2 separate regions of the Homo sapiens genome follow, and region 1 is linked to region 2. The links are contacts of gene promoters, found by promoter capture Hi-C in blood cells and fetal thymus (Javierre and others, 2016). All regions are on one chromosome and are shown on one strand. Each heading gives the region's core, a stretch centred on a gene start or on the middle of the fragment in contact. The rest is flanking DNA. Distances are from core to core; before and after follow the strand shown.

Region 1 (4,742 bases), core at 718-3,217, 150 kb before region 2:
CCAAGTTCTTCACCCTAAAACAGTTCTGTTGAATTTCACCCTGACAATATAAATTGATAGCTTATCTTCACAGGTACAGGACAAAGGACAGAACTCAAAGTCATCCCTTGGCTCACCTGAGAAATGCGTATCTGATTGCTTCCTCTGCCCTAATTATCTTATGTAAAAATGCAGATTCACTGAACTAGATGAATGCATAAGTAACTATTCCTCTACCCCCTCTCACATGTGAACAAAGAATGCAACCATTTGCCTCTTACCTACCCATACCTTTTCAAAATCTCTTCCCCTTTCCCCACTATCCACCCTTTCCCCTTAAAATATGAAGCCCTCAAAATCATCTTTGGAGAAAGGTACAGACCTGTCTCCCAGGCATGCATCCTTAACCTTAGCAAAATAAACTTCTAAATTGATTGAGACCTGTCTCATACTTTTTGGTTTGCACCCCTTTCAAAACCTCCCTTTCTGAAAAGTGAAGCGGGTAGAAGAAAACACATCTAACATCTCTTCCTATGCTATGCTTCTCTAGAAACCAAGAGTTGAAGTCAAATCACTGGAAATTTTAGTAGGGAAACCTGCAAACAGCCAGTGTCAAACTCAGAAACCTCATTTGCCAAAATAAATATGATAACAGTAAGCATTGTAGGGTACAATAATACAGTGTTTAAGGAGATGATGGGCTCAGATTCTGGTTCTGCATACTAGATACCTCTCAGTGTTTATTCCCTTGTCTGAAAAATAGGGATAAGTATAGACTCCACCTCTTAGAAGTGTAATCAGACATAAATAAGACAATCTACATAAAGTACTCAGGACAATGTAAGCACTCAATAAAATGACAATTACTATTAATAATACCCCTGCTTACTGCGTGTCAGGCACCATACTCAGTGCTTTATCTGGGCTCCCTCTGTGATGTACCCAACAAATCTGTTTATGTAATAAGAGCCCCAGAGGATTCTGAGAACCAGCTGGATTTGGCAAACACTTCCATTCCGCAAATCGTATCAATTCGGTCACACCTTACCTAGTGCTTTGCAGATCTGTTTACACAGAATTTTCACAGGTATAACCTGGTACCCAACTACTCTAAGATCTCAACTAACTCCTAATGAACTCTGGTCACCCTTCCCTACTTACTACTTCACCCTAGCATTTCTAGAGTACACACAACTGACAAACCAATTTCCTAATCAGTGTTTTCAAAAATGTAGTTCAGCTGGGTGCAGTGGCTCACGCCTACTATCCTAGCACTTTGGGAGGCCAAGGCAGGTGGATTGCTTGAGACCACGAGCTCAAGACCAGCCTGGGCAACATGGCGAAACCCAGTCATTACTAAAAATACAAAACTTAGCTGGGCATGGTGGTGTGTGCCTGTATTCCCAGCTACTCAGGAGGCTGAGGCATGAGAATTGGTTGAACCTGGGAAGCAGAGGTTGCAGTGAGCTGAGATTACACCACTACATTTCTGCACTCTAGCCTGGGCAACAGAGTGAGATTGTCTCAAAAAAAAAAAAAAACAGTAGTTCAGGTGTGACTGATGCTATGAGAAAGGATCTTAGGTGAGGTGTAGACTGTTGTTTTTTTTTTTTTTAAATAAGCACATACTTCCTAAGAACCTTCTATTTTAAAAGGTAACCTCTATTTTTATATAACAGCATGGACCCTGGAATCATATCACCTAAGATTCGTATGCTAGCTCTGCCGCTCACTAGTTTGTGATTTTGGGCAAGTTATTTAACCTCTATGTTTCCTAACTGTAAAATGGATTAAGTACCTACAGTGCTTACCTCATAGGGTTGTTGTGAGAATTAAGTGCATTATTATATAAATGTAAAAAGCTTAGAATAAAGACCTGGCATGTAATAAGCATTATATAAGTATTAGCTATTATTGCTGTGTTATTTGTGGCAAAAGGTACTGGTTTTCCATTTACATATTTATTTAAAAGTTCCCTTTAAATTTACGTTAGGTTACAAAGTGAGTTGATTTTTAAAATAATAATATTGGTATGTAAGGTACAAGGATATAGGACAAATTGAGAGAGTGGTACATAAATAAAAACAAAAACTTAGGTAGGGGGAAAAGCTTGGAGGAAAATATGTTATTAAAAGCAAGGTGCCAGCCAGGCACGGTGGCTCACGCCTGTAATCCCAGCACTCTGGGAGGCCAAGGCGGGTGGATCACCTGAGGTCAGGAGTTCGAGACCAGCCGGGCTAACAAGGCGAAACCCCGTCTCTACTATAAATACGAAAATTAGCCAGGCGTGGTGGCATGCGCCTGTAATCCCAACTACTCGGGAGGCTAAGGTGGGAGAATCGCTTAAACCCGGGAGGCGGAGGTTGCCATGAGCCGAGATCACGCCATTGCACTCCAGCCTGGGCAACAAGAGCTAAACTCCAACTCAAAAAAAAAAAACAAAACAAAAAACCAAAAGCAAGGTGCCAAAAGAGTGTTATAGAAACCCTGAAGAAATAATTTCTCTTATCTGGGGCTCCATTATCTTGTATGTAAAACTAAACGTTGAGCCCTTCTGGCTCTACAACTCTGAGGTTTGCATATAACCTACTTTTCCCTTGTTGTATTCACAACACTGTTTCCTCAATGGGTAAAGACAAAGAAGGCACAGCCCTTGGAGATTAATCACTTGGGTGGGGGAAGATTTCTTAACAGTTTATTGTAACAGAGCTTGGCATATAGTACATATGCATCATGGCAGGGAAAAAAAAGCATCGTGAACAGAAGTCACGCAAAAAGCTCTCAATCAAAAGTAGGTATCAGGGAGGAGAACCATTTCTAAGCATAATCATGATTTTTGTAAAGCCTGGAAAATATAACTTCAAGTTGCTTCTGATTTAGTGCTAAGAAAATACAATAAACAAAACTAGGTACTCAGTCAAAGGTAATACATTGGTGCAGTTTCCCCTAAAAGCATGGTGACTCTAAAGCAAGCAAAAAGAAAGAAGATAGGAAAACAGAGTGCTTCTAGAGTTATCCCGGACCTGCATCAATCCAGGCAATCCAAACCAGTGGCGGCGGGTGAGGTCCTCATCTGCACTGAAATGTAACTAAAAGCCGCTTTCGCATTTATGCAGGTGCTTAACTCCATTGCTTATTCTCTGACTGTAGCCTTGCTTCCTGATTGCACATTTTCTCTAAACTTGTGGTTGTGAGCCTATTATCAAACTACAACTCACTTCTCTGAAACAGTTTCCAGTGGCTCTTGATAAACTTTTCTCCAGCTTAACTGACCCACTAACAGCTCCCAGTAGAAGCTTCTTGTTTCCCACCGTCAGGCTTTTTATCATGTAATTCCTACTGCCTGGAATGTTCTGCCAATCCAGTCCATTTGCATTTCTGCAAGTCAAAATTCTATCATGTAATGGAGAGGCATATAATGAGGTATTAGGATCACAGACTCTGTAGCTAGAGTGTCTGAACTCTTACTTGCTCCACCATGTACTAGCTGAGTGCTCTAGGAATACTACATAACCTCTGTGTGCCTCGGTTACCTCATCTGAAACAGGTGATAAAATAACCCACCTAAAGGGGTTGTTGTCAAAACTAATGGGCTAATATATGAAAAGGGCTTAGAGCAGTCCTGGCACACAGTAAAATTGTCAGCTATTATGACAACAATAGCAACACAATAACTATTACTACAGTACATCGTCAAGGCTCAGGTCAAATGTGCCTCTCTACAAAGCACACCCTGAACTTTCTATCTGGAAGAAACCATTTTCTCCTCTGAATTCCTATTTTAACTGTCATCTCTCTCAGAACACTTCTGTCCATTTTCTATTATTCACACATATATTGTCTCCCATACCAGACTTTGAGTTAACTAAAAGCAAAATCCACTTCCGATAAGTCTCTTTATCACCTGCAGTTCCTAATATGATGCCCTGCTCATAATATCTACCCAAACTTTTGTGTGAATGGGTGGATATCTGGTCATGAGCAGTACACTTCTGCCAGCACACATAGCCTCAACCTTACCACAACATCTTCCAAAATCTTAGTAGGGCAAGGTCTGGAATGAAATTCAAAGTGTTCATCCTCTGTTTTCTTCTTTGATTCTCGCTCCTGGATTCTTTTCTCAATTTCCAAATCAAAGCCAATAGGCTCGGTGGGTGGTTTCACAGGTGGTTTCTTGGGCAAGATGGGCCCACCTTCAAGTATTCTGGGATCAAGTTCACGTGCTTTGAATTTGTATCTGTAAGGTGAAAATTTAAATAACCACAAAAAAAATTTTAATAAAATGAAAACTTCACAAACAAAGTAAGCCAACCACAAAGAATAGTAATCATTAAGATTATGCTCCCATTGACTGGACAACAGAATAAAATAAATAAAAACGAAAAACAATGGGCCAGGCACGGTGGCTCATGCCCGTAATCCCAGCACTTTGGGAAGCCAAGGTGAGCAGATAATTTGAGGTCAGGAGTTCAAGACCAGCCTGGCCAACACAGTGAAACCCCATCTCTACTAAAAATACAAAAATTAGCTGGGCGTGGTGGTGCACACCTGTAATCCCAGCTACTAGGGAGGCTGAGGCAGGAGAATCTCTTGAACCCAGGAGGCGGAGGTTGCAGTGAGCTTAGAGGCACCACTGCACTCCAGCCTGAGCAACAAGAGCGAAACTCCATCTCAAAAAAAATAAATAAATAAAAAATAATAAAAGAATAAAAGAAGAAAGAATAAATCAGACAGTCCTAACATCCCTACCACTTAAGAATTGA
Region 2 (4,045 bases), core at 1,287-3,786:
CCACCAAGATTTCATCTCACAGTCCTTGAACACACCTCACCCTAGCCACATGTTCTGTATTACAATTATTGGAGTCTGTATTGGTTTTCCCCACGGGACCGGGGGCACCATGGGGGCAGGAACTATCCAGGTGATTCACCTCATGTCCCCAGCATTGCCTAGCATCAGGCTATGCACAAACAGGTGAGTGAATAAAGAAACGAACAAAGGCATGAACTTCACCCCTCAGGTGTTTGGAGGTTTCTGGCTGTCTTGGGGGCCTCTCTCTGCCCTCTGATCCCTGACAGGCCATTCTTTCCAAAGTCAGCCCCCAACCCACTCTCTCCAGCCAGCCCCACCCTGACACTTACAGGCCACCTTTTCGGCGTGGGTCAGCTGGGTCCAGCTTCCCTTCTCCTTCTCCTTCAGGGCCTGCTCCTCAGCGTTGAGTTCTGTGCAGAAGGGCTCTTCTGGCATGGGGTAGTAGCGCTGGGCATAGCAGTTGGTGTAGGGGGACATCTTCCCCCCACCACGGGCTGCAGACACAATGGAGGGAGCTGAGTCCAGGCTGCCCTTGGGACACCCTATCTCTAACTATATTAATAAAGAAGGTGGCCGGGCTTGGTGGCTCATGCCTGTAATCCTAGCATTTTGGGAGGCTGAGGCGGGTGGATCACGAGGTCAGGAGTTCGAGACCAGCCTGGCCAAGACAGTAAAACCTCTCCTCTACTAAAAATACAAAAATTAGCCGGGCGCAGTGGTGGGCACCTATAATCCCAGCTACTCGGGAGGCTGAGTCAGGAGAATTGTTTGAACCCAGGAGGCGGAGGTTGCAGTGAGCCGACATTGCGCCACTGAACACTCTAGCCTGAGCGACAGAGCAAGACTCTATCTCAAAAAAAAAAAAAAAGGAGGTTTATAATAGCTTGGGGTACTAGTAAGGGCTCAATAAATGTTATCTTTGTTATTCTCCATGGGTCAGCAAGGCCCTTCTGCTATCTGGCTGAAGTCTCTCCTACTTTAGGTCTCTTTCTTCTTACTAGCATTGAAACTAGGGTCTGGAAAGGAGGAATCAGGGTCCAAGGTTCTGTCAGCATCCTCCACCTCAGAACAAAAGGTCTAGGGGCCTGAGGCTTGGGGGCTGGCTCCTAAGGAAGCTTGGAATGGAGATGACCACTGTCTGCTCACCCCGCGCACTCCATTTCCTGGAGAAACTTGACCTTGGACCAAGGAGTGGGATCATGGGAACATGGGAAGTGTGGTAGGAACAGGCCCAGGGTGGCATGGAAGGGCAAAGGGGGCAGCCTGCAGAGGGGACCCCTGCCCCTATCTCTGGAGTTAGGCAGGGAGGAAGGAGTCCAGGTCTCACTGGTGCCTTCTGAGCTGTGCATCCCTCGTCTTCCACCTCCACCTTTCCTCAGCACCAAGCTCCAGGCAGCTCTGGGGAGCATCTGGGGGCGTGAAGGTATAGATGAGTTCTGCCCCCACATCACCCTCTGCCCCCAAACCGCAGGGCCAGATGGAAAAATCCTTTTCCACTGGTATGGTAGTGGTAGGGGTGTCCCAGTGTTTCAAGGTCACCCTCATGCCCTTGACCCTTCTAATTTTGTCTGATATCCCCAGCGGGGGGCCAATGGGGGTCCTAGACCTTTGAAGCCCCTTTTTGGGACCTCAATTCACCATCTGAGAAGTGGGAGGAGGCCTAAGTCTTGGGCCAGGGTCTGAAGAGTTTGAGGCTGAGGGCTTGGGTTCTGGTGCCAGCCCCAGCTCAGTCTGGCCAGATTGGAGAACCCCGCTCACTTGTTTGCTCCCCAGAGGAAGCTGGGTGGGGTCCAGGTGGAGAGGGAGCAGTTCTTGAGTCTCTCTTCCCTGCAGGGGCCAGAGGCCCCTGCACCGGCAGAACAGACAGACGGTCTGGCCCCCACCCCTTCCCCCCTAATTGGCTGCCTACGTGCACACAGGCCTGCTCTGCTGGATCTGGTTGGGGTGGGGACTGGGCTTAGCCAGTCTGGCTGAGCCCAGTCTCCCACCCCCAGGGAAGACTCAGGGTTTGGCATCCATGGTGGTGGGGAGGGGCTTTAGAGGATGGGGACTTAACTGGGTCAGAGGGAGGGAGACACACATCTGGGGAAAAGAAGGGGAGTCCCACATCTAGGGAGAGAGAGGGGCACCCAACAAATAGAGTGAGGGAGGGGGCACACTACAGGTGATAAGTGGGAGGGGGCGGCCCACACTTCTGGAAAAGAGGGGCTCCGGCCAGTGATTATGATTAGTGGGTGGGAGAGCTCCACATATCAAGAGAGGGAGGATGTAATCTATATTTGGGGAAAGAGATGGCACACATATGCAGACTCCCCAGGAGTCTTCAACTCTAACCTACAAGAAGCCCCCCAACCCTCTAAGACAGGGACCACTGGGGCGTGACCCAGCGGCGAAGGCAGGAGACCGAGCCGCGCCCCTGACCCGCGCGGGCTTGGGTGGCGGGGTCCTCCCCCAACTCACTCACCTCGCGGGCTCGGCAGTGGGAGCGCGACCTGGGTCTGCCCAGCGAGCAACTGAGAACCCGCTGCGGAGGGACCTGAGTGCGGGCGCCCGCCCCCGGCCCGCCCCACAGCCTTTCTCGGGGCCGCCCCAGCGTGGGAACGTCCTGCTTCGGCAGGGCGTGGGAGCGCACAGCCTGCGTCCCTGGGGGCACCCCGGCCCACAGATTGGGGGGAGGCACTGCAGAGCGCCTCCTGCATCAGTGTCCCTACCGGGGTCCTGCCTCTGGAGACCCTCTGCAGACAGTAGTCCCAAGAACAGGGTCTCCCTGCCTCCTCCACACCTCCCCTCCTTGCTGTTTCTCCCACCTGGGATGTTCTCTTCAGGCCTTTGCAGACGCAAACCTTCCAGCCAGGCCCAATGCCTCCTACTCCAGAAGCATCTTTTAGGCCAGCAGTGGCTCACGCCTGTAATCCTAGCACTTTGGGAGGCCGAGGCGGGAGGATCACCTGAGGTCAGGAGTTTGAGACCAGCCTGCCCAGCATGGCGAAACACCTTCTCTATTAAAAATAGAAAAATTGGGCGGGCGCGGTGGCTCATGCCTGTAATCTCAGCGCTTTGGGAGGCCAAGGCAGGCAAATCACGAGGTCAGGAGTTTGAGACAGCTTAGCCAACATGGTGAAACCCCATCTTTACTAAGAATACAAAAATTAGCTGGGCGTGGTGGCACGCACCTGTAATCCCAGCTACTCAGGAGGCTGAGGCAGGAGAATCGCTTGAACCCGGGAGGCGGAGGTTGCGGTGAGTCGAGATCCGGCTACTGCACTCTAGCCTGGGCAGCAGAGCTAGACTCCATCTCAAAAAAAAAAAAAAAAAAAAAAAAAGTTAGCAGGGCGTGGTGGCGCGCACCTATAGTCCCAGCTTCACAGAGGGCTGAGGCAGGAGAATCACTTGAACCTGGGAAGCGGCTGTTGCAGTGAGCCGAGATCGGGCCACTGCACTCCAGCCTGGGCAACAGAACAAGACTCTGTCTCAGAAAAAAAGAAAAAGAAAAAGAAAAAAAAAATTCCCAGCACTTTGGGAGGCCAAGGGGGGCAGATCATGAGGTCAGGAGATGGAGACCATCCTGGCTAACACAGCGAAACCCCGTCTCTACTAAAAATGCAAACAAAATTAGCCAGGCATGGTGGCAGGCGCCTGTGGTCCCAGCTACTCAGGAGGCTGAGGCAGGAGAATGGCTTGAACCCGCAAGGCAGAGGTTGCGGTGAGCCAAGATCATGCCACTGCACTCGAGCCTAGTGACAGAGCGAGACTCCATCTCAAAAAAAAAAAAAAAAAAAATAGACAAGGCTCAGGCACATTTATTCAAGAATTACTTATAAAACTGGGCGTGGTGGCTCATGCCTGCAATCCCAGCACTCTGGGAGGCGGAGGCGAGCAGATCACCTAACGTCAAGAGTTTGAGACCACCCTGGCCAACGTGGTGAAATCCCGTCTCTACTAAAAATACAAAAATTAGCCGAGTGTGGCAGGGGACACCTATAATTCCAGCTACTCGGGAGGCTGAGGCTAGATAATCGCTTGA

Evidence for each region. Contacts are between HindIII fragments. The CHiCAGO score rates a contact against its expected background, and 5 or more counts as called.
Region 1: a fragment that was not itself captured here is called in contact with the fragment with the promoter of COX4I2 in region 2 in 3 of 17 cell types (erythroblasts, M1 macrophages and megakaryocytes); the score reaches 7.4 in erythroblasts.

The regions. Positions count from the first base shown.
Region 1 is chr20:31,783,179-31,787,920 of GRCh38, reverse strand. TPX2 (TPX2 microtubule nucleation factor) reads right to left here. Exons shown (of 18, transcript NM_012112.5): 12 at 4,000-4,216. Among named protein-coding and RNA genes, the nearest start is that of MYLK2, 34 kb to the left of the region's middle. RefSeq lists an enhancer at 1,802-2,301. The HindIII fragment of the contact is 247 bases long and covers 1,844-2,090 here.
Region 2 is chr20:31,636,403-31,640,447 of GRCh38, reverse strand. It overlaps COX4I2 (cytochrome c oxidase subunit 4I2), which reads right to left and starts at 2,536. Exons shown (of 5, transcript NM_032609.3): 1 at 2,486-2,536; 2 at 1,349-1,430; 3 at 351-515. The coding sequence starts at 1,430. RefSeq lists a silencer at 2,476-2,615. The HindIII fragment of the contact is 5,408 bases long and covers 1,139-4,045 here.